7 separate regions of the Homo sapiens genome follow, and all the other regions are linked to region 3. Evidence: promoter capture Hi-C in 16 types of primary human blood cells and fetal thymus (Javierre and others, 2016). All regions are on one chromosome and are shown on one strand. Each heading gives the region's core, a stretch centred on a gene start or on the middle of the fragment in contact. The rest is flanking DNA. Distances are from core to core; before and after follow the strand shown. Region 1 has its middle 360 kb from the start of LINC02223. Region 2 has its middle 250 kb from the start of LINC02223. Region 3 holds the start of BASP1 (brain abundant membrane attached signal protein 1). Region 4 has its middle 310 kb from the start of LINC02223. Region 5 has its middle 240 kb from the start of LINC02223. Region 6 has its middle 330 kb from the start of LINC02223. Region 7 has its middle 290 kb from the start of LINC02223.

What was found. The method cuts DNA at HindIII sites, captures the fragments that hold promoters and counts their contacts. A CHiCAGO score of 5 or more calls a contact.
Region 1: a contact is called between a fragment that was not itself captured here and the fragment with the promoter of BASP1 in region 3, in 2 of 17 cell types (M1 macrophages and M2 macrophages). The highest score is 5.6, in M1 macrophages.
Region 2: a contact is called between a fragment that was not itself captured here and the fragment with the promoter of BASP1 in region 3, in 1 of 17 cell types (M2 macrophages). The highest score is 5.0, in M2 macrophages.
Region 4: a fragment that was not itself captured here is called in contact with the fragment with the promoter of BASP1 in region 3 in 5 of 17 cell types (megakaryocytes, M1 macrophages, M0 macrophages and 2 more); the score reaches 16.6 in megakaryocytes.
Region 5: a contact is called between a fragment that was not itself captured here and the fragment with the promoter of BASP1 in region 3, in 1 of 17 cell types (M2 macrophages). The highest score is 6.0, in M2 macrophages.
Region 6: a contact is called between a fragment that was not itself captured here and the fragment with the promoter of BASP1 in region 3, in 2 of 17 cell types (M1 macrophages and M2 macrophages). The highest score is 7.9, in M1 macrophages.
Region 7: a contact is called between a fragment that was not itself captured here and the fragment with the promoter of BASP1 in region 3, in 5 of 17 cell types (M2 macrophages, M1 macrophages, megakaryocytes and 2 more). The highest score is 12.5, in M2 macrophages.

What each region holds. Positions count from the first base shown.
Region 1 is chr5:18,167,861-18,171,579 of GRCh38, reverse strand. No RefSeq gene overlaps it. Among named protein-coding and RNA genes, the nearest start is that of LINC02223, 360 kb to the right of the region's middle. The HindIII fragment of the contact is 2,042 bases long and covers 1,178-3,219 here.
Region 2 is chr5:18,060,139-18,064,340 of GRCh38, reverse strand. No RefSeq gene overlaps it. Among named protein-coding and RNA genes, the nearest start is that of LINC02223, 250 kb to the right of the region's middle. The HindIII fragment of the contact is 4,790 bases long and covers 134-4,202 here.
Region 3 is chr5:17,215,037-17,219,082 of GRCh38, reverse strand. BASP1 (brain abundant membrane attached signal protein 1) reads right to left here and starts at 1,452. Exons shown (of 2, transcript NM_006317.5): 1 at 1,273-1,452. It overlaps BASP1-AS1 (BASP1 antisense RNA 1), which reads left to right and starts at 1,661. Exons shown (of 3, transcript NR_027253.1): 1 at 1,661-3,006. RefSeq lists an enhancer at 1-332 and silencers at 367-686, 1,177-1,656. The HindIII fragment of the contact is 5,505 bases long and covers 1-4,041 here.
Region 4 is chr5:18,118,548-18,122,774 of GRCh38, reverse strand. No RefSeq gene overlaps it. Among named protein-coding and RNA genes, the nearest start is that of LINC02223, 310 kb to the right of the region's middle. The HindIII fragment of the contact is 2,219 bases long and covers 1,516-3,734 here.
Region 5 is chr5:18,041,066-18,044,815 of GRCh38, reverse strand. No RefSeq gene overlaps it. Among named protein-coding and RNA genes, the nearest start is that of LINC02223, 240 kb to the right of the region's middle. The HindIII fragment of the contact is 2,106 bases long and covers 657-2,762 here.
Region 6 is chr5:18,135,877-18,139,865 of GRCh38, reverse strand. No RefSeq gene overlaps it. Among named protein-coding and RNA genes, the nearest start is that of LINC02223, 330 kb to the right of the region's middle. The HindIII fragment of the contact is 3,404 bases long and covers 1-3,383 here.
Region 7 is chr5:18,095,887-18,099,963 of GRCh38, reverse strand. No RefSeq gene overlaps it. Among named protein-coding and RNA genes, the nearest start is that of LINC02223, 290 kb to the right of the region's middle. The HindIII fragment of the contact is 5,338 bases long and covers 1-4,077 here.

The sequences.
Region 1 (3,719 bases), core at 949-3,448, 950 kb before region 3:
CATCCACGTTGCTGCAAAGGACATAATTTCATTCTCCTTTATGGCTGTGTAGTATTCCATGGTGTCTATGTGCCACATTTTCTCTATCCAATCCACCATTGATGGGCACCTAGGTTGATTCTATTTCTTTGCTATTATGAATAGTGCTACAATGAAAATATGAGTCCATGTGTCTTTTTGGTAGAACAATTTGTTTTCTTTTGATAAGTAAGCAGTAATAGGATTGTTGGGCTGAATGAGTTCTAAGATCTTTGAGAAATCTCCAAACTGCTTTCCACAATATCTGAACTAATTTATGTTCCCACCAACAATGTATAAGTATTTCCTTTTCTCTATAGTCTCACCAACATCTGTTGTTCTTTGATTTATTAATAATAGTTATTTTGACTGGTGTGAAATGATATCTCATTGTGGTTTTGATGTATCTCTTTTATGATAAGTTATGTGGAGCTTTTTCTATGTTTGTTGGCTGCTTGTATGTCTTATTTTGAGAAGTGTCTGTTCATGTCTTTTCCCTACTTTTTTATTAGGGTTATTTGCTTTCTACTTGATTATTTCTTTAAGCTCCTCATAGATTCTGCTGGTAAGAACTGCCTTCTTTAGTATGTCAGTTGCATATTTTACTTCCAGAATTCCTGCTTGATTCCTTTTAATTATTTCAATATTTTTATTAAATGTATCGAATATGCTTCTAAATTCCTTCTCTGTGTTATCTTGAATTTCGTTGAGTTTCCATTTTGAATTCAGTCTGAAAGGTCGCATGTCTATGTCTCTCCAGCATTGTTCACTGGTTCCTTATTTGGTTTGTTTGGTGAGGTCAAGTTTTCCTGAATGGTCTTAATGCTTGTGGATGTTTCTTGGTGCCTGGGCATTGAAGAGTTAGGCATTTATTGTCTTTGCAGTTTAGGCTTATTTGTACACATCCTTTTTGGGAAGACTTTCCAAGTATTTGAAGCGACTTAGGTGTTATGATTTAAGTTTTGGTCACTACAGACATATCTGCATTAGGGGGGACTCTGAGCCCAATAATGTTGTGGTTCTTTTAGATTCATAGAGTTACCACTTTGGTGGTTTTGAATAAGATCTGGGAGAATTCTCTAGATTACCAGATGAAGACTCTTGTTCTTTTCTTTCAGTTTCTCCTGAGAAAACAGAATTTTGCTCTCTGTGCTAAGCTTCCTGGAGCTGGGAGAGTGGTGACACAAGCACCCCTGAGGCCACTATCACTATAACTCTGCTGGGTCAGACCTGAAGCAAGCACAGCACTGGTTCTCATGCAAGGCCTGCAGTAGGCACTGCCTGGCTATCGCCTATGTTTGCTCAGAGCCCTAGTGCTCTATAATTAGCAGATGGCAAAACCAGCCAGGCTTGTGTCTTTCCCTTCAGGAAAGATACCCCTGTCCCCATATGTGAGCTAGGGCCTAGAGTCAGAAACCTTAGGAATCTACCTGGTGCTCTATTCTACTGTGGCTGAGCTGGCACCCATGCCATAGACAAAGTCCTTCCCACTCTTTCTTCCCCTTTCCACAATCAGAGGAGTCTCTCCTCATGGCCACCACAACCCCAGGTCCACAGCAATTACTGCTTGGCTACTGCTGATGTTCACTGAAGGACCAAAAGCTCTTCAGTCAGTTTGCAGTAAATGTCAGGAGGCCTAAGAGTCTCCCTCTGGGTAATTGGGCTCCCATCTGGCCCTGGTCAGGTACAGAAATGTCATCTAAGAGCAAAGGCCTTGAATTGGGGACCCTAAAAACCTCCTTGGTGCTCTCCCCCACTGTGGCCAAGCTGGTACCCAAGCTGATTTTTGGTTCTCATGAAGGTGCTTTTTGGGTTGATGAGTGTTCAATTTGGTCTTCCTTTGGGGTGGATGATCAGTATAGACTTCCATTCAGCCATCTTGCTCCCCATCATCCCAACTTTTATTTTAGATATGAGGGTACATGTGTAGTTTTGTTACATGGGTATAGTGTGTTATTGTATTAGTCCATTCTCATGCTGCTAATAAAGACACACCCAAGACTGGGTAATTTATAAAGGAAAGAGGTTAGTTGACTCACAGTTCAGCATGGCTGGGGAGGTATCAGGAAACTTATAATCATGGCAGAAGGCACCTCTTCACAGAGTGGCAGGAGAGAGAATCAGTGATGAGTGAAGGGGGAAGCCCCTTATAAAACCATCAGATTTCATGAGAATTCGCCCACTATCATGAGAACAGTATAGGGGGAAACTGCCCCCATGATTCAATTACCTCTCACCAGGTCTCTCCCACAACATGTGGGGATTATGGGATTACAATGTAAGATGAGAGTTGAGTGAGGGCACAAAGCCAAACCATGTCAGTTATGCTGAATTTTTGCGTGCAGATCCTCTCACCCAGGTTGTGGGCATGATACTTAGAAAGAATACTTATGAAAAACAAACAAAAAAACCACCTAAATCTTAATAAGAACAGTTAGCTTTGTAGCATTAACTCGCCCTAGTCTGATTCCTCTTTCTGGAGCTATGTGGTATCCCTATAGCTTCATAACTATTGTAGCTCTGAAAATCAGCAGCCTATCAGGTGCTGAAAGGGACAACTTCTGTATCACAAAGAGCTTCATCTTCATAAAATTATTATTATTTGCCTTTCAGAAGATTTCTGAAAACTTCATTTCTCAAGTCTTATCTTTTTTTGACCCTAATTGGAGCTTGTTTTGCATGTACAACAATATCCCTAGGCTGTTTGCCGAAACCAATCAGCAATTGTTATTTAACATGGTGGTTGCCTGAGGTGGCATTACCAATTGTTGGTAACAAGAGGCTTACCAAAAAAGTTAGAGTAACTAAAAACATAAATAATCTGTCTACAGCAGACTTTGAATGCCACTAATATATGCCTGGGAGTCTAGAATGCCACACACATGTGCGATACTCTGGCATACCCAAGAAAGATCTGGGAAAGCCAAAATGTTTTACTTTTGAATAACCTTGCTGTGCTGTGTAAGAAAGAAGAGAAAGATAAAGTAGAGATATAAACTGTCCCAATGTAGTTTTTAAAGCATTCCGTAACACACAAAGGACTTCAGAATAGAATGGTAGACATATTTGTTCAAAGGACGTAAGAAAATTTCTGTAAGCTAAGATAACCAATCATAAAATTCAGTAGCTGCACAAAACAAAGAATATAGATTTTACAGCATGTGTCCCAGAAAGTTATTAAACAAGCAGCAAAAGTAAGCTTTGGGGAGAGAGATATCTTATTTCCAGAGTTGACACATTATATTATGTAAAATATACAGTTCAAAATAAGAAATTATGACACTTAAAGAAACAGATATGTATGGCCCATACACAGAAAAAAAGTCAATGGAAACAGTCTATAAGAAATACAGATGTTAGACTTACTAGACAAGGAGTTTAAATCAGCTGTTGTAAATATGTTCAAAGAACTAAATGTTATCATGACTAAAGAATTAAAGAAAAGTATAAGAACAATGTCTCATCAAATAGAAAATATCAATAAATAGAAATTACTTTTAAAAATAAATATTCTGGGGCTCAAATGTACAAAAGCTCAAATAAAAAATCTGAAAATAACAAAAACTGAAGCATGTTTAACAACACATTCAAAGTGGCAGTAGAAAGAATTAGCAAACTTAGATCAAGTGAAATTATTCAATATAAGAAATAGAAGAAGAAAAATGGACAAAACCTCAGAGACCTGTGAAAAAACATTATGC
Region 2 (4,202 bases), core at 1,279-3,778, 840 kb before region 3:
TTGCTTAAAACCACCTTCTAGTGTCCCATTGCAATTAGAGTAAAATCTAGTCTTGTTGTTACAGCTTACATGATGTGACCACTTCTACCTGTCTGACACCTTGTGGCTCTACTCCTGCTGTGACCACTAAGCTTTAGTCACAGGAGATTTCATTTTATACATTACCAGACACATATTTAATTTTAAGATCTTTATCTCCTCTTCCTTTTACCTAGAATGGCCCTTCACCAGAACGTTCTCCATTAAGATTAGTTTCAATATTCCTTTGTCAATGAAGTCTTCCCCACTTTCCTTATCTAATCAAGAACATCCTTGTCTTACTCCTGCCTATGGAGTAATTCTATATCCTTTACCTGGTCTATATTTTCACAGCACTTACCACTATCAAAAATCCTCCTGTCTATACGTTCATTGTAGATGTTACAGTTAGGATATTAGCTTGGAAAGACCAAAGGCCTGATCTGTCTTGATCACAGCTTTCTCATCAGGGCCTTAAACAGTGCCCAACATAAACTAGATGCAGAATAAATACCTGTTGTATGAGTGGGTAAATTGATGAATAATTTACTCTTTATGTTCCCCTTCTTCTTTAAAGAAAAATTAAGAAACAGAAGTAACAGGATTTTTAAGGATTATGTCTTGAACTGTGTCCTCCCCCCAAAATAGATTCAAATTCTAATCCCTGGTACTTGTGAATGTAAGGCAACCTGAGAAATGTTTACCTTATTTGAAAGTAGGGATTTTGCAGCTATAGTCAATTTAACATGAGGTTATATTGGAGTAGACTGGGTGCTTAATCCCTTATGACTGGTGTTCTTAGGAGAAAAGAAGAGACATAATGATAGGAAGAACACTATGCGACAATATAGGTAGAAATTGTAGTGATGTATCTACAAGTCAAAGAAGACCAAGGATTGCCAGCAGCACTGGAAGCTGAGAGAGAGGTATGGAACTGATTTTACACTAGAGTCTTTAGAGACTAACACCCTGTTTACAGCTTAATTTAGTACTTCTAGGATCCAGAACTGTAAGCATAAATTTCTGTTTAAGCCACCCAGTTTATTACAGCCCAGGTGCCAACTTCTTTACAGCAGCCCCAGAAAGTGACACAGAGCTATTTATTGAGATGTATGTTTGCAGGTCTGAAATGATGGTTTCAGTTTTAAATATGTTAACTTTTAAATGCTTGTAAGACACATCTTGAAATACAACAAAGGGTTGACTTGTTAAGGCAGATTCCTAGGAATCGTAGACACTATCAAACACTAAATTTTACTAATGATTCACAATGGGTATAAGCAAACCCAGGCACAAATGCAATATTCGTCTTTGAAGGATCCCAGGGCCTGTCAGACACAGGTCCCTAATGCCATTCTCTTTCATGGGCATGCATTGGTATTGGAGTAACAGAAGGGCACTGACAGTATGTCCATGAGATCCATGCTGGTCCAGAGAACATTGCTTGGGTTCAGGGTTTCTTAGTTACTAGTTTTCTAGGGCTGCCATAACAAAGTGCCACAGACTGAAGGCTTAAACAACAGTAATTTATTTTCTCAAGTTTGTGGAGTCTGGAAGTTCAAGGTCAAGGTATTTGAAGGTTTGGCTTCTCCTGAGGCCTCTCTGCTTAGCTTGTAGATGGCTGCCTTCCTGCTGTGTTTTCACATGGCCTTTCTTCTGCATGTGCACAAGCCTGAGGTCTCTTCCTCTTCTTATAAAAACACCAGTCAGCTCCTGGACTCATTGATTTTTTTGAAGGGTTTTTTGTGACTCTATTTCCTTCAGTTCTGCTCTGATCTTAGTTATTTCTTGCCTTCTGCTAGCTTTTGAATGTGTTTGCTCTTGCTTCTCTAGTTCTTTTAATTGTGATGTTAGGGTGTCCATTTCAGATCTCTCCTGCTTTCTCTTGTGGGCATTTAGTGCTATAAATTTCCCTCTACACACTGCTTTGAATGTGTCCCAGAGATTCTGGTATGTTGTGTCTTTGTTCTTGTTGGTTTCAAAGAACTTTATTTCTGCCTTCATTTCGTTATGTACCCGGCAGTCATTCAGGAGCAGGTTGTTCAATTCCCATGTAGTTGAGCGGTTTTGAGTGAGTTTCTTAATCCTGAGTTCTAGTTTGATTGCACTGTGGTCTGAGAGACAGTTTGTTATAATGTCTATTCTTTTACATTTGCTGAGGAGAGCTTTACTTCCAACTATGTGGTCAATTTTGGAATAACTGCGGTGCTGGGAAAACTGGCTAGCCATATGTAGAAAGCTGAAACTGGATCCCTTCCTTACACCTTATACAAAAATTAATTTGAGATGGATTAAAGACTTAAATGTTAGACCTAAAACCATAAAAACCCTAGAAGAAAACCTAGGCATTACCATTCAGGACATAGGCATAGGCAAGGATTTCATGTCTAAAACACCAAAAGCAATGGCAACAAAAGGCAAAATTGACAAATGGGATCTAATTAAACTAAAGAGCTTCTGCACAGCAAAAGAAACTACCATCACAGTGAACAGGCAACCTACAGAATGGGAGAAAATTTTTGCAATCTACTCATCTGACAAAGGGCTAATATCCAGAATCTACAATGAACTCCAACAAATTTGCAAGAAAAAAAAAAACAACGCCATCAACAAGTAGGCGAAGGATATGAACAGACACTTCTCAAAAGAAGACATTTATGCAGCCAAAAGACACATGGAAAAATGCCCATCATCACTGGCCATCAGAGAAATGCAAATCAAAACCACAATGAGATACCATCTCACACCAGTCAGAATGGTGATCATTAAAAAGTCTGGAAACAACAGGTGCTGGAGAGGATGTGGAGAAATAGGAACTTTTACACTGTTGGTGGGACTGTAAACGAGTTCAACCATTGTGGAAGACAGTGTGGCGATTCCTCAGGGATCTAGAACTAGAAATACCATTTGACCCAGCCATCCCATTACTGGGTATATACCCAAAGGATTATAAATCATGCTGCTACAAAGACACATGCACACATATGTTTACTGCGGCACTATTCACAATAGCAAAGACTTGGAACCAACCCAAATGTCCAACAATGATAGACTGGATTAAGAAAATGTGGCACATATACACCATGGAATACTATGCAGCCATAAAAAATGATGAGTTCATGTCCTTTGTAGGGACATGGATGAAGCTGGAAACCATCATTCTCAGCAAACCATCGCAAGGACAAAAAACCAAACACCACATGTTCTCACTCATAGGTGGGAATTGAACAATGAGAACACATGGACACAGGAAGGGGAACATCACACACCGGGGCCTGTTGTGGGGTGGGGGGAGGGGGGAGGGATAGCATTAGGAGACATACCTAATATTAAATGACGAGTTACTGGGTGCAGCACACCAACATGGCACATGTATACACATGTAACTAACATGGAGAAACTGCACGTTGTGCACATGTACCCTAAAACTTACAGTATAATTGAAAAAAAAAACAAAACACCAGTCACATTTGATCAGGGCGTCAACATAGACAACTTCATTTAACCTTAATTCCCTCTTTAAAGGCCTTATCTCCAAACACACTCAGAGTAGGGGTTATGTCTTCAACATATAAATTTTTGGGGGGACACAATTTTCTTTTATAACATTCACTCATGAACGACCAAAGCAAAACAAAATGTTATAAAAGAAATTTTGCTTTGGTCATTCATGAGTGAATATACTGCATAAGTAACTTCCATTGACAAATTAGCTATATCTCATAAGTTCTAAGTATTTTTTTTTTGTTTTGTTGTTGTTTGTTTGTTTGTTTGACAGAGTTTCACTCTTGTTGCCCAGGCTGGAGTGCAATGACACTATCTCGGCTCACCACAACCTCCGCCTCCCGGGTTCAAGTGATTCTCCTGCCTCGGCCTCCCAAGTAGCTGGGATTACAGGCATGTGCCACCATGCCTGGCTAATTTTGTATTTTTAGTAGAGATGGGGTTTCTCCATGTTGCTCAGGCTGGTCTCGAACTCCCAACCTCAGGTGATCTGCCTGCCTCGGCCTCCCATAGTCCTAGGATTACAGGTGTGAACCACCGCACCCTGCCCAAGTGTTTTAACAATAAGCAATGTTGACGGTGAACATTTCTACAAGAGCAAATAGTCAATATTGTCACTACCTCTTGCACCTAGAGATGAAAGGAGTTACACACCCACTGTGAATTCTTTCCTTCCTTTC
Region 3 (4,046 bases), core at 203-2,702:
TAGCAGAAGGCCATTTCGACGCTAGTGTTGGGTTTTAGCCCGCCCCACAGTGCGAGTGGCCGCGGGGGAGACAGAGGTGTTGTCAACCTGTACAAGGTCCTAAAAAATGCACCCATGTGTGCTGTGCTAATTTCAGCAGAGTGAGAATTACATGGGCAAGGGCTGTCCACCGAGTTCGTTTCAAGGCGGAAATGTCTCTGGGGACGCAGATAAGGAGCCTGGCCAAGCGTTCGATGAATATTCATGAAAAGAATGCGGTTTGCAGCCGCGCATTGTGCGTGCGATCGGATCCAGGATTCCGCAATTTTTATTTTTCTGGAAATGGAGGGGGGACGGGGGCGGGGGGAGCAGGAACCGGGCGCCGGGTTTCAGCTTTAGCGCTTTGGGCAAAAGCTGCTCAACCCCAACCCTACGCTCCCAGCGGGGCTGAGCCCAGTTAGGGCCGCGCGCTGTCAGGTTCAAGCCCACACCCCCCGGGCCCGGGCCGGGGCCGGGACCCAGGGCGGAGGCGCCTGGCGCATTCTTGGAACCAAAGGCTCGAAAAAACAAACTGCTCCGAGGCAGCCCACGGGTTCGTAGGAAGGCAATTCCGCCACTGACGAGGCTGGGGCTCCGATCTGCTCGGGAGGTGCTTCTGAGTGCACGTCGCCGTGTGAACCTCGTATTCCTTGGCCCCAGAACCAAGATCCAGGAGTCCCATGGGTCGAGAAAACCCGTTTGCCAAAGCAAAAAGCCACCCACTTCCTTCTGATCGGGCCAGATTCCCCATCTTCTTTCTCCCCGGACTCCCGCCCCACCCCACCCCCACCCTCCATCTTTGGCTGCTGCGCCCCTCGCCCCGAGCGCTTTCTCCCAGGCTGGTAAGGGCTCCGATGACGGAAGCGCTCCCTTCAGCCCACAGAACCGTCTCCCCGGGACTCAACGCACTGAGGGGGTTTCGCATTCGGCAATTCCTCCCGTCACCCGCAGCTCCTCTCCCCGACAGCCCCCTCCCCCCAGCTCCGTTTACCAACCTCGCCGCCCCCCTCACCCCTCCACCATGCGAGCGGCTGAAGCCTCCCACTTCTGGGCCCCCCATCACCCGGGATCCCCGAAGTGCGACGGAGCCCTCACAGAGGGACCCCAGGCCCTTGCCGTCCAATCCGGGCCCACATCCCTGCTGCCCGCTGCATGAAGGGAGAGCCCGGGGGCTGCGGGGCGGGGCGCGGCGCGGTGGGGGACGGAGGCCCCCGGGTCCGCGGCGGCGCGGGGCCACCGGGCGCGCCTCCTTACCGGCTCTGGGTGCCTATGCAGCCCCTGAGTTAGCGCGGTGCCGCCGAGAGGCCGGGGTCGCTGGCGTCGTCTGGCTGGTGCCTGGCCGCTGGCGGAGGCTCTCTCCCGGCTCGACGGCGGAGCCCGGAGCGAGGAGCCAGTTGGAGCGCTGCCGCCGCCGTCGTCGCCGCTGCCGCTACTGCCGCCGCCGCCGCCGCTGCAGCCTCTGCATTTCTCGCGCTCGCTCCCCCTCCCCTTCCTGCCCAGTGCCCTCCCCCCGCGCGTCCGCCCGCCCAGCCTCCCTCCTCCCGCGCTCCCCGCCCGCCTCTCTCCCCTCCCTCCAGCCCGGCGCCCCGCCCGTCTCCCCTCCACCCCCTCCAGCTCCATCTCCCCACCCCCTGCACTCCCTCTGCTCCCCTCCCCTCCTCCGGCGCAGACCCTCCCCTCTCCCCTCCAGCCTGGACACGCCCGCCTCCCCTTGACTCCCCCCAGCTCTGGGCCCCCACCTCCCCTCCCCTCCAGCACAGTCACCCCCATTTCTCTCCTATCCGCCATCCTGGTTCCTCCCTTCCCCCCACCTCCCAACTCTGTGCCCCGCCAACGTTTCCTAAATGCCCTCTATTCAGATCCCCCCTCCGCCTCCCCTCTCCTCTCCTCCATTCCTGCGTCCCCCTTCCCCCGCCGCGCCGCCTGGGCTGTCCGTGGACTTCTCCCACTCTCTCACTCTCTCACTCACTCTCTCTCTCTCTCTCTCTCTCTCACTCTCTCTCTCTCTCTCCCCCTCATTTATTTGGAACCGTTGGATAAGAAGTGCTCGGGCTCTCGCTCAGACTTAGGGAGCTGCCTCGAGGTGATGAATGACACCCCCTGGCACCAGCTACCCTTCTCAGACCCCAGTCCAGCCCGCTCCCGACGTCGACTACGATTCCGCTACCTCGGCTGGCAGCGAGGTTGGGGTGAGCCCCAGCTGCAGGCGCGTCTGGGCTGCGCCGCTGCAAACGAGTTGCGCACCTTGGGCGGCTCCGCACCTGCACCCGCACCCGCGGGGCTCAGCCCCGAAGGCTGCAGCTTCGGGGGAGGCGCGGTCGCCGAGGTCCAGCTGGTGGGGCGAGAGACGTCGCCCCTCGGAGGATGCTCTCGGAACTTGGGAGAGGAAGGAGGGAAGAGAAGAGGGGAAAGGGGCCGTCGATGTTTTTGATGTCTGTGCTTTAATGGAGGCCACCAATATTGAGAAGACGGGGTTGGCCGAGGCAGCCCGCACGCTGCTGCTTGCGAGCGCTCGAGTCAAAGCTAGGGCCAACCGCGGCTTGTCCGGGTGCCCTAAGGGGGCGGACACTTGGTTTAGCACCGGGACACAGAATAGCCACCGGGGTAGGAAGATGCGTTCACTTTGCTTACCTGTTGGCAAGAGGGACATACAAAAATAACGTAACGTGACATCGTTGACAACGGTAGCTCTTTGATTACACAAAAGCCAATTTTACCTTCCCGCAAAAGCCAGTTGACGCCTTTGGAACTTTTATTTGCGGCATTTTGGCGCCCTCTGGCTGTGTTTGGATCGCTTTCATGCTCGCCTGCGTCCCAGCCAAGAAAAAATCGATGGAGCTGCAGGTTGTCCTCAGGATGGTTCTGCCCTCAGGACCTGGGCGTGAATTCAGGGACAGGGTGGCCCTCCAGAACCGGAGTGACAAACTGTAACCATACTTAGGGAGGCAGACGTCAAAGGCAAGTACATCTGTATTCAACTGGGTAAAGGTAAGTGCATTTTCACTTAACAGGAAAATTAACTTATCGTAACTTTAACGTACATATTTGAATTAAGCAAAGTGGCAATATTTACTCAACTGCACTAGCGATTTTGCAGTGGAAACACTTGACGACCCTACTGTACACATTTACAGGTCATAGGAGGCAGCACCAAATTAGATTAATGCATGCCAGCTGGAAATGTTCAAATTTAAACCAAAGGTAAGAAAAAAGCGGGAACTGTTTGTTTTTTCCTGTTTCTCTTTCTGCCATTTAAAGTGAAATAAAAAGTTAGTGTAGTAAAATACCAGGGAAGCAAATTACAAATGAGGTTGCTTCTAAAGCATTTTATTCTTTTGAATATTTATTTCCCTCACACCAGTACACCATCTATAAAGCTAAATGGAGGATGCAGGTTTTCCCACCTCCTTTTGGGGCCAGATATTTCTTTGTTGTGGAAGGCTGTCCTATGCACTGTAGGATGTCTGGCATTCATTGCTGGCCTCTACTAGCAGCCAGTACCACCCTCCACACACACCACCAGCACCAGCACCAGTTGTGACAACCAAAAATGTCCCCAGATATCGCCAAATGTCTCCTGGGAGGCAAAATCACTCCAGGCTGAAAACCACTGAGCTACATTTTCTTTCAACCTCTATGAGCAAGTCTCTAGGTTTTTACCCTATCGAATTAGATGAATATTTGCAATGTTCTGCTCAAGACATTTCCTGAGTTTGTTAGAGGAGCTGCCTACTTGTTCATTTAGCATTCAGGGTTTTTATCCTTGTGATCTTCCAGGCATGTAAATCATCTAAAAATTAGCAAATACATTTCCTCATTGTATTTGCAGTCTAAGCCTGTGGGTGTTATCTTCCTTCTCTATTCTCTTTTTCCAATTTTTCCAAAAAAAAAAGACAACATAAAAATTAATGTTCAGTACCTTCAGTGCTTCCAGCTAAATTTTCATGATGGAGAAAACAAACCTTTCAAAGGTGTGATTGGAATACAGATCACGGGTTACCATAGAAACCGGAGGCAAAAGCTTACAC
Region 4 (4,227 bases), core at 1,376-3,875, 900 kb before region 3:
TGCGGTCCAGGAATTTATCCATTTCTTCTAGATTTTATAGTTTATTTGCTTGGAGGTGTTTATAGTATCCTCTGATGGTAGTTTGTATTTCTGTGGGGTCAGTGGGGATATCTCCTTTATCATTTTTTATTGTGTCTATTTGATTCTTCTTTCTCTTATTTTCTATTAGTCTAGCAAGTGGTGGTCTACTTTTTTTTTTTTTTTTTTTAGAAAAACAGCTCCTGGATTCCTTGATTTTTTTGGAGGGTTTTTGTGTCTCTGTATCCTTCAATTCTTCTTAGATCTTAGTTATTTCTTGTCTTCTGCTAGTTTTTGGATTAGTTTGCTTTTGCCTCTGTAGCTCTTTTAATTGTGATGTTAGGGTGTCAATTTGAGATCTTTCTAGCTTTCTGATGTGGGATTTAGTGCTATAAATTTCCCTCTTAACACTGCTTTAAATGTGTCTCAGAGACTCTGGTACATTGTCTCTTTGTTCTCATTGGTTTTAAAGAACTTCTTGATTTCTGCCTTAATTTCATTATTTACCCAGGAGTCACTCAGGAGCAGGTTGTTCAAGTTCCATGAAATTGTGTGGTTTTGAGTGAGTTTCTTAATCCTGAGTTCTAATTTTATTGCACTGTGTTCTGAGAGACAGTTTGTTATAATATCTGTTCTTTTACATTTGCTGAAGAGTGCTTTACTTCCAAGTACGTGGTCAGTTTTGGAATAAGTGTGATGTCGTGCTGAGAAGAACGTATATTCTGTTGATTCGGGGTGGAGAGTTCTGTAGATGTCCATTAAGTCTGCTTGGTGGAGAGCTGAATTCAAGTCCTGGATATCCTTGTTAACTTTCTGTCTTGTTGATCTGTCTAATGTTGACAGTGGGGTGTTAAAAATCTCCCATTATTATTGTGTGGGAGTCTAAGTCTCTTTGTAGGTCTCTAAAGGACTTGCTTTATGAATCTGGGTGCTCCTGTATTGGGTGCATATATATTTAGGATAGTTAGCTCTTCTTGTTGAATTGATCCCTTTACCATTATGTAACGGCCTTCTTTGTCTCTTTTGATCTTTGTTGGTTTAAAGTCTGCTTTATCAGAGACTAGGATTGCAACCCCTGCTTTTTTTGCTTCCCATTTGCTTGGTAAAATTTCCTCAATCCCTTTATTTTGAGCCTGTATCTGTCTTTGCATGTAAGATGAGTCTCCTGGATACAGCACACCAATGGGTCTTGACGCCTTATCCAATTTGCCAGTATGTGTCTTTTAATTGGGGCATTTAGCCCATATACACTTCAGTTCAGACAGAGTTTGATCCTGTCATCATGATGCTATTTATTATCATTGGATTTTAATGCAGTTTCTTCGTAATGTCATTGGTCTTTATATTTTGGTGTGTTTTTGCAGTGGCTGGTACCAGTTTTTCCTTTCCATATTCAGTGCTTCTTTCAGGATCTCTTGCAGGGCAAGCTTGGTGGTAATGAAATCCCTCAGCATTTGCTCATCTGAAAAGGTTTTATTTCTCTTTGCTTATGAAGCTTAGTTTGGCAGGATACGAAATTCCGGGTTGAAAATTCTTTTCTTTAAGAATGTTGAATATTGGCCCCCAATCTCCTCCAGCTTATAGAGTTTCTGCTGAGAGGTCCACTGTAAGTCTGATGGCTTTCCTTTGTAAGTGACCTGGCCTTTCTTTCTGGCTGCCCTTAACAGTTTTTTCTTCATTTCAACCTAGGAGAATCTGATGATTTTGTGCCTTGGGGTTGACCTTCTTGTGCAGTATCTTACTGGTTTTCTCTGAATTTGCATGCTGGCCTCTGCTAGGTTAGGGAAGTTCTCTTTTAACATGAAGGGATATGAATTTTATCGAAGGCCTTTTCTGCATCTATTGAGATAATCATGTGTTTTTTTTGTCTTTGGTTCTGTTTATGTGATGGATTACATTTATTGATTTGCATATGTTGAACTAGCCTTGCATCCAAGGGATGAAGCCAACTTGATCATGGTGGTTAAGTTTTTTTGATGTGCTGCTGGATTCAATTTGCCAGTATTTTATTGAGGATTGTACTCCAATCGATCGTTAGGTTTGGTCTTTTTATGAAGTCCCATATTCCTTGCAGACTTTGTTCATTCCTTTTCATTCTTTCTTCTCTATTCTTGTTTGCATGTCTTATTTCGGTAAGATGGTCTTCAAACTCTGATATCGTTTCTTCCACTTGGTCTATTCAGCCATTGATACTTGTGTATGCTTCATGAAGTTCTCGTGCTGGGTTTTTCAGCTCCATCAGGTAGTTTATGTTCCTCTGTAGACTGGTGATTCTAGTTAGCAGCCCCTATAACCTTTTTTCATGGTTCTTAGCTTCTTTGCATTGGGTTAGAACACACTCCTTTAGCTCATCGTAGTTGGTTATTATCCATCTTCGGAAGCCTACTTCTGTGAATTCGTCATCTGATCCTCCATCTAGTTCTGTGAACTTGATGGAGAGACCTTGCTATCATTTGGAGGACAAGAGGCACTCTGACCTTTTGGGTTTTCCACATTTTTTCATTGATTCTTTCTCACCTTCATGAGTTTTTCTAGTTTTGGTCTTTGAGGCTGCTGACCCTTGGATGGGGTTTTTGTGAGGGCCTTTTTGTTGTTGTTGTTGTTGTTGTCACTTTCTGCTTGTTTCTTTCAATAGTCTGGTCTCTCTTCTACAGGGCTGCTGCAGTTTGCTGGGGGTTCACTTCAGGCCTGTTCATTTGATTTGCTTCTGTGCCTGGAGATGTCACTCAAGGAGGCTGGAGAGCAACAAAGGCGGGTGCCTGCTTCTTCTTCCGGGACCCCTGACCTCGAGGGGCACCAACCTGATGCTAGTAGGATTGCTCCTGTATAGGGTGTCTGACAATCCCTGTTGGAGGGTCTCACCCAGTTGGGTTGAACAGGGAGCAGAACCCATTTTACGAAGCACTTTGTCCCTTGGTGGAAAGGGTGTATTTTGCTGGGGAGAAACTCACTCATGTGGGCTGCCTGGATTCCTCAGAACTACCAGGAGGAGAGGTTAAGTCTGCTGGTCCCCAAAGAGTGCAGCCACCCCTCCCACTAGGGGCTCAGGCCCAGGAAAATCCTAATTCTGTCCCTGAACCTCTAGCTGGAGTTACTGGAGATCCTGCCAGGAAGCCCCGCCCACTGAGGAAGGATGGGTCAGAGTTAGGCCTGAAGAGGCACTTTGGCCACAGATTACCACAGCGGGTGTGTTGGGCTATGGAGACAAGTCTTGGGACCAAGACTTACAGCCTCCTTGGCTCCAGCAGAGAAAAAGCACAGCATGGAGCTATAGAAATGCGTGCCACCCTTCCCCCACCCAGGGAGCTTAGCATGTTAGGCAGTTGTGAGTCCCATGGCTTAGACAGCAGGCAGCCACAGGGCCTGCTGATCTCCCCTCCCCCTAGGAGTTTGGTAGGCTTAAGCAGATTCCAGCTGAGAGGCTATAAGAATCTGCACGTTCTGGGGTTGGGACACTAGGCGCCGGTGGTGTGGGTTCGCGAGCGGGATCTTCCAATCTGTGGGTCACACAGTTCCACAGCAAAAGCGCAGTTTCTCCTGCTGGGTGGCACGCTCACTCACTGCCTCCCTTGGCTGGAGGAGGGTGTTCCCTTTCCTGTGTGGCTCTCAGTTGGGCCCTCTGCACCACACTGTTCTTCCTTCTCTCCATGGATCATGCCAGCCTTCTAGTCAATTTTGATGAGAGAACCTCGATACCTTGGTTGCTGCTGAAAGCTTGACATGCTTATTATGGTTTTTTTTCGATGGGGAGCCTCCTAACGCTGCTGCTTCTAAATACATATATATTCTTCAGTGCAAGGCAGTGGAAAGTGAGAAAAATAGGTTTGTAAGAGGAAAAAGAGTGATGGAGGTTGTCTCTATTTCAGTAGGTGGTGACATATTAAACTACATTCTTAAATATTCTGTATAAGTACAGCTTTTAAGGGAATACTTCTGTGTATTTCTAAATCATATTTATAGCAACAGAATTCTTTGTATCAGTTGGGATTCTGCATTTAACATAGGAATAAAATAGGCAATAATTTTCCATTAGTCCAGCCTATGTATATGTGTGTGTTTGTGTATGAATATATACACACTCACATAACACACATGCATACATACATGCAAGTGTGTGTGTGTGTGTGTGTGTGTGTATACTCATATAGTTAGGGGAGAATGTTTGATACATTTAACCTATAAGGAATTTATAATTGGCCTCCAATCATC
Region 5 (3,750 bases), core at 460-2,959, 830 kb before region 3:
GCATTAGAATGTGATCATGCATGCCTAAGAGGTGATTTGATATTTAAATGTGTATATATATTTCTATATCAAGGTCACTAAAATGAGGAGGAAACTTAATATGACTACAATATCATATGAGCCAAAACAGATATTTATAAAACTGCATATTGAGATGAAATCTGATCTCCATGCTCGTCTCTCTATTGTACAACTGACGCATGTTGACTATGAAACTTTTAAGACCTAATTTTAATTTTGCTCATTGTGTGTGTGTGTACAGTTCTGGTTGGGTATTTATAAAACACATGTAATTTGTCTAGTCTCTAAAAGGAAAAAAAAACTATTTTATGTTGTTTTACAGTTATTTTTAATACAATAATTAATTTATGTATGTGTTATCGAGTTCATATACTAACATATACTTAACAAGAGAAAAATCAAGCTCTACAGAATAAGAATTTTAGAATATTATAATATAAAAATTATAAAAAGTTGATTGAGTAGAAAAACAAATGCTATCTTGCCAATAAATCGAGGTAATTTAAAAATGTTCCTGAGTGATGGTTTTAAGAATCAGTCATATCAAACCATTTTGGAACAGAATATTCCACTTCTGTTGATAGCATTTCAATATAGAAAAAGAAAAAAATGTTTCAAAACCATTTTATGAAGCTTTGATATCAGAGTTTATTTGATGAAGGTCAAAACCCAATGAAACTCCCAAATATAGATTTAAACCTTACAAATAGAGATGAAAAACTTCTAGATAAAATATAACCTGAATATGTTGAAAGATATAGCCCATAATCAGAAAGGATATATTCCAGAAATGAAAAAAATAAGTGATATTAGAAAATCTATCTATATAACTCATTACACCTCTAGATTTAAAATTTTTAAATAATATTTAGATATATAATAAAAGGCATTTGAAATTTGAAAATACATTTCTATTAAAGATTTTTTTAATACTCTAGGTAGAAATATGTTTTATTTTTATTATAAAGGTGTTTATCTCCAGTCAATGGCTAAGAATATTTACAAAGATGAAACATTACAAGGATTTTTAGCGATGGAATCTCAAAAAAAAAGAAAAAAAATGAAGAAGGAGGGGAGGGGAGGGGAAAGAGAAGGGAAGGGAAGAGATCAAGAAATTTAATTATATAAATCCTAAACAAACAGTGCTTTCTGGGGTCACAGGAGAAAACACATAGGGCATCACTAAATCACTTCACCTTGCTTCCTAACAATCCCCAACCACAAGATGGCCCTGAGTAATCAGAGGGTAATTCCATTCCCTGTTTGTGGTTGATTCAGGAACACAGGTCTAAGCCTTATGGCAAAGAGTTCATGAAAAGGAGAGTAATTCAAGAAGAAGACTGTCACTGGATCAGGGAGCAGGAGGTTAGCTGAGGAAGGGTTTCATAAACTAAAGACAAAACCACAGGAAGGAACAACTTCTTTATCCTCCCTCTGGATATTACCGTCTGTGCTGTGAAGCCTTGAAATCTTGCAGCCATCTTATTTGACTGAAGATAAAGTTGGCCCATAGAATTCAGCACTGAAGCATTAAGACAACCCCAAAGCCATCTTCCTCTTGGATGTCTGTTTATACGAGAGAAGAAGCCAGCTTTCACTGGGTTTTCTATTCCTTATAATCTAAGCAGGGGTCAGCAAACTTCAGAAAAGTTCCTGTGAGTAAATATTTTAGGCTCTGTGGATCACACAGTCTCTGTTTTTCAGCTCTGCCATTTCATTGCAAAAGGCAATACGTAAACAAAGAGTCACAACTGTGTTCCAGTACATCTTTATTCACAAAACTAGGCAGTTAGGATACACTCCCATGTTTTCTTCTGTAACTTCTGTAGTGTTAAGATTTACATTCAAGTCTTTGATCCATTTTGAGTTAAATTTTGGCATAAGAGACAAGGTGTGGGTATGATCCAGCACCATTTGTTGACAAGACCATTCTTTCTCCACTGAATTGCTTCTGTCTCTGTCAAAAATTCATTGACCATATTGTGTATAAATCTACTTCTGGATCCTCCATTCTTGTACCTTGATTAGTCTTTCAATATTATACTGCTGATTACCATAGATTTTTTAAAAATCTTAAAATTAGATAGTATAAAAGCCTTCCAAATTTGCTCCTCTTTTCCAATAGTATTTATTCATTGTCATACAAATTTTAGGATCAGTTCATCAATTCCTACTAAAAAATTGAGAATTTTGATAGGAATTGTGTTGAATTTATAGATTATTTTGGGGAGAACTGATATCTTAACAGTATTGAGTTTTTTGATCCAGGACCAGGATATAGCTAACAATTTATTTGCATTATATTTATTTCTGTAGGTAGTGTTTTCTAGTTTTCAGTATACAGGTCTGACACATCTTTTGTTAGATGTGCCACTATGTATATAATATTATTTGTGCTATTATAAATGGTATTTTAATTTTCAATTTCTGATTATTTGTTGCTATTATATAGTTTTTTATATGTCAATCTTGTATTCTATGATCTTGCTAAACTCACTGTTTAGTTCTAGTAGCATGTTTACAAATTTCATAGAATGTTCTACATAGATGATCATATCACCTATGAATAGATTATTTTAATTCTTATTTTACAATCAGGATCCTTGTAATATATTTTTCTTAACCTACACACTGTTTAGGACCTTCCAGTACAGCATTAGATTTTCTGTGTCTCTCTTACTTTTGCACTTCAAAGATATGCACATTCTCCAAAAGAACCCTGTGCTTAGAATTTAGAAGCTTTCTGTTGCTGAAACTGACCAGTATTAATTGGGAGTTAATTAATCCAACTAAGTTTACCTGGGTGTAGCTTATTTGAAATTTTGTACGTTATTAAGTGAAAAAAATTGTAGCACAGAAATACTTATTTGTGTGTGTGCATGTATGTAGAGAGAAACTTATCTCTATGTTTTAAAAAACATGTCTGAGCATATTATGCAAGTATCACTGTGTGCCTGTGTGTGCTCATGCTGTGTCTAGCTGAGTGCGCCAAAATGCACTCTACATTGTGAACTCTACTGACCCGAAGAGAAAGAAGTATTATTAGAGGTGGGGCATAGAGAAAAATCTCATATTTTACAACATAAAATGTAATATATTTTGACCTTTTTATAATGAGGCTTATCAATCTTGCAATTTAACATACGCATTTAAAAAACAAAAGCCTATGCATGGGCAAGGACTTCATGTCTAAAACACCAAAAGCAATGGCAACAGAAGCCAAAATTGACAAACGGGATCTAATTAAACTAAAGAGCTTCTGCACAGCAAAAGAAACTACCATCAGAGTGAACGGGCAACCTACAAAATGGGAGAAAATTTTCGCAACCTACTCATCTGACAAAGGGCTAATATCCAGAATCTACACTGACCTCAAACAAATTTACAAGAAAAAAACAAACAACCCCATCAAAAAGTGGGCGAAGGACATGAACAGACACTTCTCAAAAGAAGACATTTATGCAGCCAAAAAACACATGAAAAAATGCTCACCATCACTGGCTATCAGAGAAATGCAAATCAAAACCACAATGAGATACCATCTCATACCAGTTAGAATGGCGATCATTAAAAAGTCAGGGAACAACAGGTGCTGGAGAGGATGTGGAGAAATAGGAACACTTTTACACTGTTGGTGGGACTGTAAACGAGTTCAACCATTGTGGAAGTCAGTGTGGCGATTCCTCAGGGATCTAGAACTAGAAATACCATTTGACCCAGCCATCCCAT
Region 6 (3,989 bases), core at 432-2,931, 920 kb before region 3:
TTTTAGCTTTGGCTATTCTTTTAAAGATACTAGATTTTCAGAGGAAATAGTTACCAATAAGAATGAAGCAATGAATTACATTATAGCTTTTTTAATCCAAAAATTACTACCATAATCTTATTCTGCCACTTATCCAGGTGATTTGAAGTAGACACTGTTGCATGATTCTGTTTTCAATTTGATGAGTTCCTTAAGCTGCCAAATTTCTACATTAAATTAATTAGTTTCCTTGGGGAAAAAAGTGTGGCTTTTTTATTCTTTCAGTAATGAGAATTTCATATTGAATTTTCTCTTATAACTAGACTTGTCTCAAACCCCAATTCATCTCCTTTATTCTCTTTTATCCAGTCTTTTCATGGCCTTCCATTTTTACTTTATTCACATATTCATCCTATTATTCTTCCATCCACCATTCATTCAAAAAATAAGGATTAATTTCCTACTGTATACTAGACACTGAACTATTAGTTCCAAACACAGTGAATAAAAAGAATGCATTATCTGGTTTGCAGAAACTGCGACAGAGACAGTGAAAGAAGGAAAACAAAGAAAAAAGCTGTCATAGAAAGAAGAGAGAAGGGAAAACAGACAAATAAATAAAGTCATTGCAATCTGTAGTCAGTGCTATGAAGGGCAAAAGCAAAGCTGAGACAAAATAACAGGAAACCCTGTATTTAATAATAGATAGGATGGTCAATATTTTTTTCTTTGCAAGTGCCTTGTTTGGAACTGAAATAAGGGAGACTCTTGCTGTGTTTTAGCAAAGAGACTGGTGGTATTTTGCCCCTGCCCTAGAGATTTGTGGATTTTTGTGCTTGAGAGATGATTTAGGGCATCTGGTGGAAGAAATTTCTAAGAAGCAAAGTGTTCAAGATGTGATTCAGGTGCTGTCAAAAGCATTCAGTTTTATGTATTCACAAAGATATGGTTTGCAATTGAACCTTATGTTTAAAAGGGAAGCAGAGCATAAATGTTTAGAAAATTTGCAGGCTGATGATGTGATATACAAGAAAAACTCATTTTCTGAGGAGAAATTCAAGCCTGCTGCAGAAATTTGCATAAGTAATGAGGAGGTAAACATTAGTCACCAAGACAATGGGAAAAATGTCTCCAGGGCATGTCAGAGATCTTTCCAGCAGTCTCTCTCATCAAAAGACTGGAGGCCTAGGAGGAAAAAATGGTTTTGTGAGCTGGGACCACCACCCCCCCTGCTCCATGCAACCTGGGACTTGGTGCCCTGCAACCCAGCCGCTCTAAATGTGGCTAAAAGGGACCAAGGTATAGCTTGGGCCTTGGCTTCAGAGGGTGCAAGCCCAATGCCTTGGCCACTTCCACAAGCCTGCAGGTGCACAGGAGTCAAGAATTGAGGTTTGGGAACCTTCCCCTAGATTTCAGAGGATGTATGGAAATGCCTGGATGTCCAGGCAGAAGTTTGCTGCAGGGGTGTGGAGTTAGAGCACTCACACAGAGTCCTCACTTGGACACTGCCTAGTGGAGCTGTGAGAAGAGAGCAACCATGTTCCAGACCCCAGAATAATGGATCCACTGACAGCTTGTGCTCTGCACCAGGAAGAGCAGCAGACACTCAACGTCAGCCTGTGAAGGCAGCCAGGAGGGGGACTGTACTCTGCAAAGCCACAGGAGAGGAGATGCCCAAGGCTGTGGGAGCCCACCTGTTGCATCAGCATGACCTGGATATGAGACATGGAATCACAGGAGATTATTTTGGAACTTTAAGGTTTAATGACAGCCCTATTGGATTTTAGATTTGCATAGGGCCTCTAGCTCCTTCATTTTGTCCAATTTCTCCCATTTGGAGCTGGTATATTTACCCAATGACTGTATCCCCATTGTATCTGTGAAGTAACTTTTGATTTTACAGGCTCATAGGCAGAAGGGACTTGCCTTGTCTCAGATGAGACTTTGGACTGTGGACTTTGAGTTAATGCTGAAATGAGTTAAGACTTTGGGGGACTGTTGAGAAGGCATGATTGGTTTGAAATGTGAGGACATGATATTTGGGAGGGACCAAGGGTGGAATGATATGGTTTGGCTGTATCCCACCCAAATCTCATCTTGTATTGTAGCTCCCATAATTCTTTTGTGTTGTGGGAGCGATACAGTGGGAGGTAATTGAATCATGGCGGCGGGTCTATCCCGTGCTATTCTCCCGACAATGAATAAGTCTCATGATATCTGATGATTCTATAAAAGGTAGTTCCCTGCACATGCTCTCTTGCCTGCTGCCATGTAAGACATGACTTTGCTCCTCTTTTCCCTTCTGTCATGATTGTGAAGTCTCCCCAGCCATGTGGAACTGTGAGACAATTAAACCTCTTTCCTTTATAAATTACCTGGCCTCAGCTATGTCTTTATTAGCAACATGAGAACAGACTAATAAATTTTCATATCACCACAATAGTTTTTAATTAATTATTTAAAACATGACTTTTAAGTAGATTAGGTGACTTTACCCTTATTTTTTCCCTTTCATTTTCAAACTACTTAATGGCTCATCTCACACATTCAGGCTGGCAGATTAATTTTAGGATGACATGTATATGATCTTTTTTTCATGAAAGCCTGTAACTAAATGTTTCTTAGACTAGTGTTAAACATGTAGAAATTTGATTATAATTTACATCTTTACAACATTAAGTCTTCCAATACATGAACTGACGTGTCACCATTTACCATGTATTCAAATCCTTTTTTAAAGTTTCCAAATAATTATGGGAATGTGTGTGTGTGTGTGCATAGAAAATTGTGTGTATGTATATTTTTTCACATACTCCGTAAGTTTATTCAATGTTACGTTTTTATTCATATGGTGAATAAGTTTTTTTCCAATCTATTATCTATGTGGCTCTTAATCTAAAAAGAAGATTTTTGATTGGAATCTTTGATTTTTACTCACTACTTCATTGTAATCTATAATCATTAAAACAATTCTTGAATTCATTTTCCTGTGTTCTGTAGATAGAAAATTATGTATTTTAGGATTGATGATATTCTTGCTACTGCCTGTTAGATTGTTGTGTTTGTGAATTTATTGGCTAGCACTGTCTGAACACAGTTAATTAACAGTAGTGACACTAGGACCCCTGGGATTGTTTTACTTTAATAGGAATTATCCTATTTCTTTAATAAATTCTTTCATCAATTTTATCTTACTGATGACAATATTTTGAAAATTTATGTCAGAAATGTTTTATTTTACTTAAAAATTGTTATTGAATTTTATAAAATATATTTTAATCTTCTATTAAAATGATTTCATTATTTTATTTTATAATATTTATAATAAATTTCATTAGCAGTTTCCTTAATATTAAATAATTTGCACCACACAAAAAATAAGTTTTCTTGGTAATTATGAAGCTTACTTGCAAAACTTTATGCAAAGTTTTTGAACTTGTATTAGGCAGAATTGCTCACAAGTGATGACTAATGAAGGCCGTATTTGTCAGCTTTTGGTCTCTGAGGTATAATAGCTGTATAAAATAATTGTGACTATGTTCTCTTTCTGTAAGATCTATAGAGCTTGAGTTCAACTAAAGCACTCTTCTTAATTACTAACAATTTTTTGTTACAAAAAGAAAAACCAAACTAAATTGGAAGACTTTCTGAATATCTAATGTTTTTAAAATAACAGTTCTTTTAAACTACTGCCTAATGATTTTATTCACTACCTCTGTCTGAGAGAAGCCAAAGTTATTCATTCCTTTTACTTAATCCAAGGGAGATAATTGAATAGAGAAGAAAGAAGAATTGTATTCTTACATTTCTGCCTTTATGTCTCACCTGAAATCTTCTGATTAAACTTTTTATTGCAACCTCGATTAATAATTTGAAGAAATGGTTTTAGCTTGTGCTATATGTATCATAATTAATATTAAGCTATCTAAAAATGTGTAAAAAACCGTGCAGACACAAGAAAACTCCATAAGGTGAGGAGGTGACTTAATATGGTATACAAATAAAATGGG
Region 7 (4,077 bases), core at 284-2,783, 880 kb before region 3:
TAGAAACACCAGAGAAGCTCTCATTCCTGTGTTTCTGGCAAGAGAAACAGAGTCAAATTTATTCTAATATTTTAGAGAATCTGTTCAGGAAAAACAGGAGGATATGAAACTTGACAGTCTTATTGCTCACTACATAACAAAGCAGTTTCCCGAATAGCACAGAAATGTTACGTGATTGGACAGGAAAAGTAATGTCATTATTAAAATGATTGCTAAGGCACCAGAAAGGTTAAATCTAATTATGAAATTACCAGGTTCCACCCACTAACCTCTGTTCATCCTGAGTTAGCTTCAGTATGAGTCTACATTTTTATAATCTCAAAAGTGTGGCATGAGGTTTATTTCTGAAGTGATAGCATTGCATATAAAATTTCATTAATACCAAATACTTCAGATGACATAGTGTGACAAAAGTCTTGGATAGTCAAGAGAATGGCTGAGTGAAGGAGAGAAACGACAGCTGAATACAAATGAACTCAGCAAGAGGTATCTAAAATTTCAATATGAAAGAAGGCAACATAGAGAAGCTAGAAATCAGAATAAAGACATTTTGCTACTGTTTCATAATAAACAATGATAACCAGCTGCTGTTTACAACACGCATGATTCTATGAAAAACAGTCATTTTTTCATCACCTCTGGCATTTATTTTAACCCCTGCTGTGGTGGTGTGATATATGGAGGCACATCAAGTCTTATTTTTTCTGTGATTTTGAGTCATTAAATATTTGAGTGCTAGTTGTTACTCAGATGAGAGCCAAAGCATTTGGCAATTAATAGCAAATGGATTTGGAAAGGGGTAGGGCCTCACTAGTATAACTTCCTAAAACAGTATCTATAATAAATGTAAATTTCTCCTGAATTGTAACTGTTTACATGGAAATCTAGCATAGAGTAGGATCCTAAAATAGCCAAATGGAAAAACCCTAGAAAGATATCAATTCAATAAATAATTGGTATTGATTTTTTACATTTTGTTATTGAGTAGTTAGTTTTTGTAAGCAACGGATGCCTAAAACTGTGAGCCTGTGATACAGTTGATCAGACCCAGGCTCCTTTTAGTTACCAAGGAAACCATTTCATAGACATTCACATAAATAAACTGTAGACAGTGGGAGGAAACACCATAAATACAGAAACGGTTTCACTTGATTTTTTATTGCTATGAGAAAAACTCTCTCTTCCTGTGGCCATACATGCACCAAAAAAAAAAAATACAGAAACATGAGGGCAATACCTTGTACATGACACATGCAGGTAGGGTAATTACTGCTTTTATTCAAAATGTGAAAATTAACGTTGGAAATGTCGCTCAAATTGCCAAAGTTTTCCAAATCTGACATGATCATAACGAAGACTTATTTTCATTTGAATTTTAATGGTTTTCTCACCTACCTATTCACAAAAACAGGTCTTGTATTTTACTTCTTTTATACACCTACATCTCAGGAAAAACAAGTAGAGACCATTTTTTCTCTTGGAAATTTTGTAATAATAGCCTAACAAAGAAAAGCTCAGGAATGTTGCAAGGTTGTATTCGCAAATCGTTTGTCTGAGTTGGCTGCAAGACGTATCTCAGGCTGTGATGATATGCACAGACATTTTTCTGTGCACATGATCTCTGAAAATTATCAGACATCTAAATATAAATCAAATCAAATGAAAACAAAAACAATTTTTAAAAAAATCTGCTTTTTAGGTAGAATAACAATTACATGAGTTGATATTTTATCCCTCTCTTCAGTGATTCTTTGCCATTAGGTACCTACCTCAACCTGTTTAATTAAAGGGTAGAGTGGACTCTTTTGTTTTGGCTGGCTTGCCACACTGCCCACGTCCTGTGTTAGTATATTCCTCCGTTTTCCTTCATTGTACTAGCTGCTTCCTAATTCCAGGACATTATCCGGCAGGCCTGATGAGACGCACTGCCCCCAGGGTGTAGAGGTGAGCCTTGATCCAGTCTGTTTCTCCATCAAAGTGACACAGTTAGATGTTGCTTGGAGCCCAGTTCCTGCTGTGAAAATCCCCGCTGCTTCTTCTGTACCCATCCTTTCTGAGGTCTGGCTTTCAGGATTTTTAAAAATTCTACCAGCTCCTCTCCAGCCTTCCAATGTATTTACCTTTTCCTTTAAATTTACTAGAGTAGGTTTCACGTAAGTTGAGCCAAAGAACTCCAAAAGATGACCCAGTAAGGTGCTGACCACTGCAGCAACGAATATTTTGTTTTAATAACAATTACCATAGCTTCCTCATAATCATCAATGCAGAAAATGTTCTATATTCACAAAACTTTCCTGAGTGACTTTATTCTAAGTCAATGTATTATTTTTAACTATCATCGTATCCAGAACTAAATAGAAACTTTTATTTAGTTTTAAGGAACACAATCTATTTCTAGAAGTCTAGTTTTGGAATAAAGATATATGTTCAGCCGCTTTATGTCATTTATTATATTAAATGCTAAGATTTTACTCATGTTCAATAGTGAACAGAGTGATCAATGCCCAGCAAACTTCCGATTGAGTCCCACACGGATTTCAGCGAATAGAAAACCTCTCTATTCAGAAAACATTTATAAATCTAGGAAAAGATGGTGCAAACTTGTAACTATGCAATCATCAGGTATTTATCAAATGTCATTATGGGCCAAGCATTGTCTAGTCAGTGTCTGGATAGAGCAGTGAGCAAAAGGAACAAGATTTGTGTTTTATGCTTACAGTATACTAAGAACTGTAATATAGTAATAATATATTTACTTGTAGTACAAACTTATAATAAGACTTACTATAAGAGTATATTATATATTTATAATATAGTAAGGATGACATTATATCCCTGTAATATAGTAAGGACTATATTATATCCCTGTAATATAGTAAGGACTATATTATATCCCTGTAATATAGTAAGGACTATATTATATCCCTGTAATATAGTAAGGACTATATTATATCCCTGTAATATAGTAAGGACTATATTATATCCCTGTAATATAGTAAGGACTATATTATATCCCTGTAATATAGTAAGGACTATATTATATCCCTGTAATATAGTAAGGACTATATTATATCCCTGTAATATAGTAAGGACCATATTATATCCCTGTAATATAGTAAGGACCATATTATATCCCTGTAATATAGTAAGGACTATATTATATCCCTGTAATATAGTAAGGACTGTAATATAGTAATAATATACTTACTTAAATATAGTAAGAACTTATAGTAAGACTTACTATACTTATCATATAGTAAGACTATATTATATCCTTATAACACAGTAAAACTATACTATATCCTTAAAATATAGTAAGAAAATTCTATTTTGCTTAGGAGTACAAGCAATTACCAATATAGCAAGTAAAATGATCACCAAGTCCTAAAGGGCAGAAAAGCAAGGAAGAAGCACATCAGAGAGTGGTCAAGGAAAGCCTCAGTGAAAGGGACTTTTGATTAAAGATCTGAACTAAGAGAAGGAGAGAGCCATGGGGATATTTGACAACAGATGGAAGAGAATTAACTTTATCACTGCTATTTTACAAAAATCTTTTCCTAATGCTAAATAACTCAGTGATTTAAAAGAATGCTGGAGAGATGCTTTTGACAGATAGAATGGCAAGGGCAAGGCCCTGAAGTCTTGAAGAGTTTAATGTATCTGAAGGAAAAAGGGTCCAGGTGTGAACTTAGTGAGGATGGCATTTTAGTGGAGCAGAAGGAATTTGAGCCTGAGATTAAGTTGGGAAGGAAGAAAGGGCCAGATTGCAAAGAACCTTGAAGACCTGTTAGAATATGTATTGCATTCTAAATGAAACGAGAAGTCGTTAAAGGTTTAAAAAATAGGTAAGGGAGACAAGGAAACATTTAGAGGTGATGGATATGCTTATTGTCTTGATCATGAGTGATGGCTTCACAGGTGGATATATATGTTCAAACCCATCAACTTTTATACATTAAGTATATGCAGGGGTTTTTTTTATTTCGAATACATCTAAATAAAGCTGTTAAAAATTTTTAAAGCAGGAAAGTGATATGATTCAATTAATATTTTTAAAAACTTGCTCTTCATCTTTCA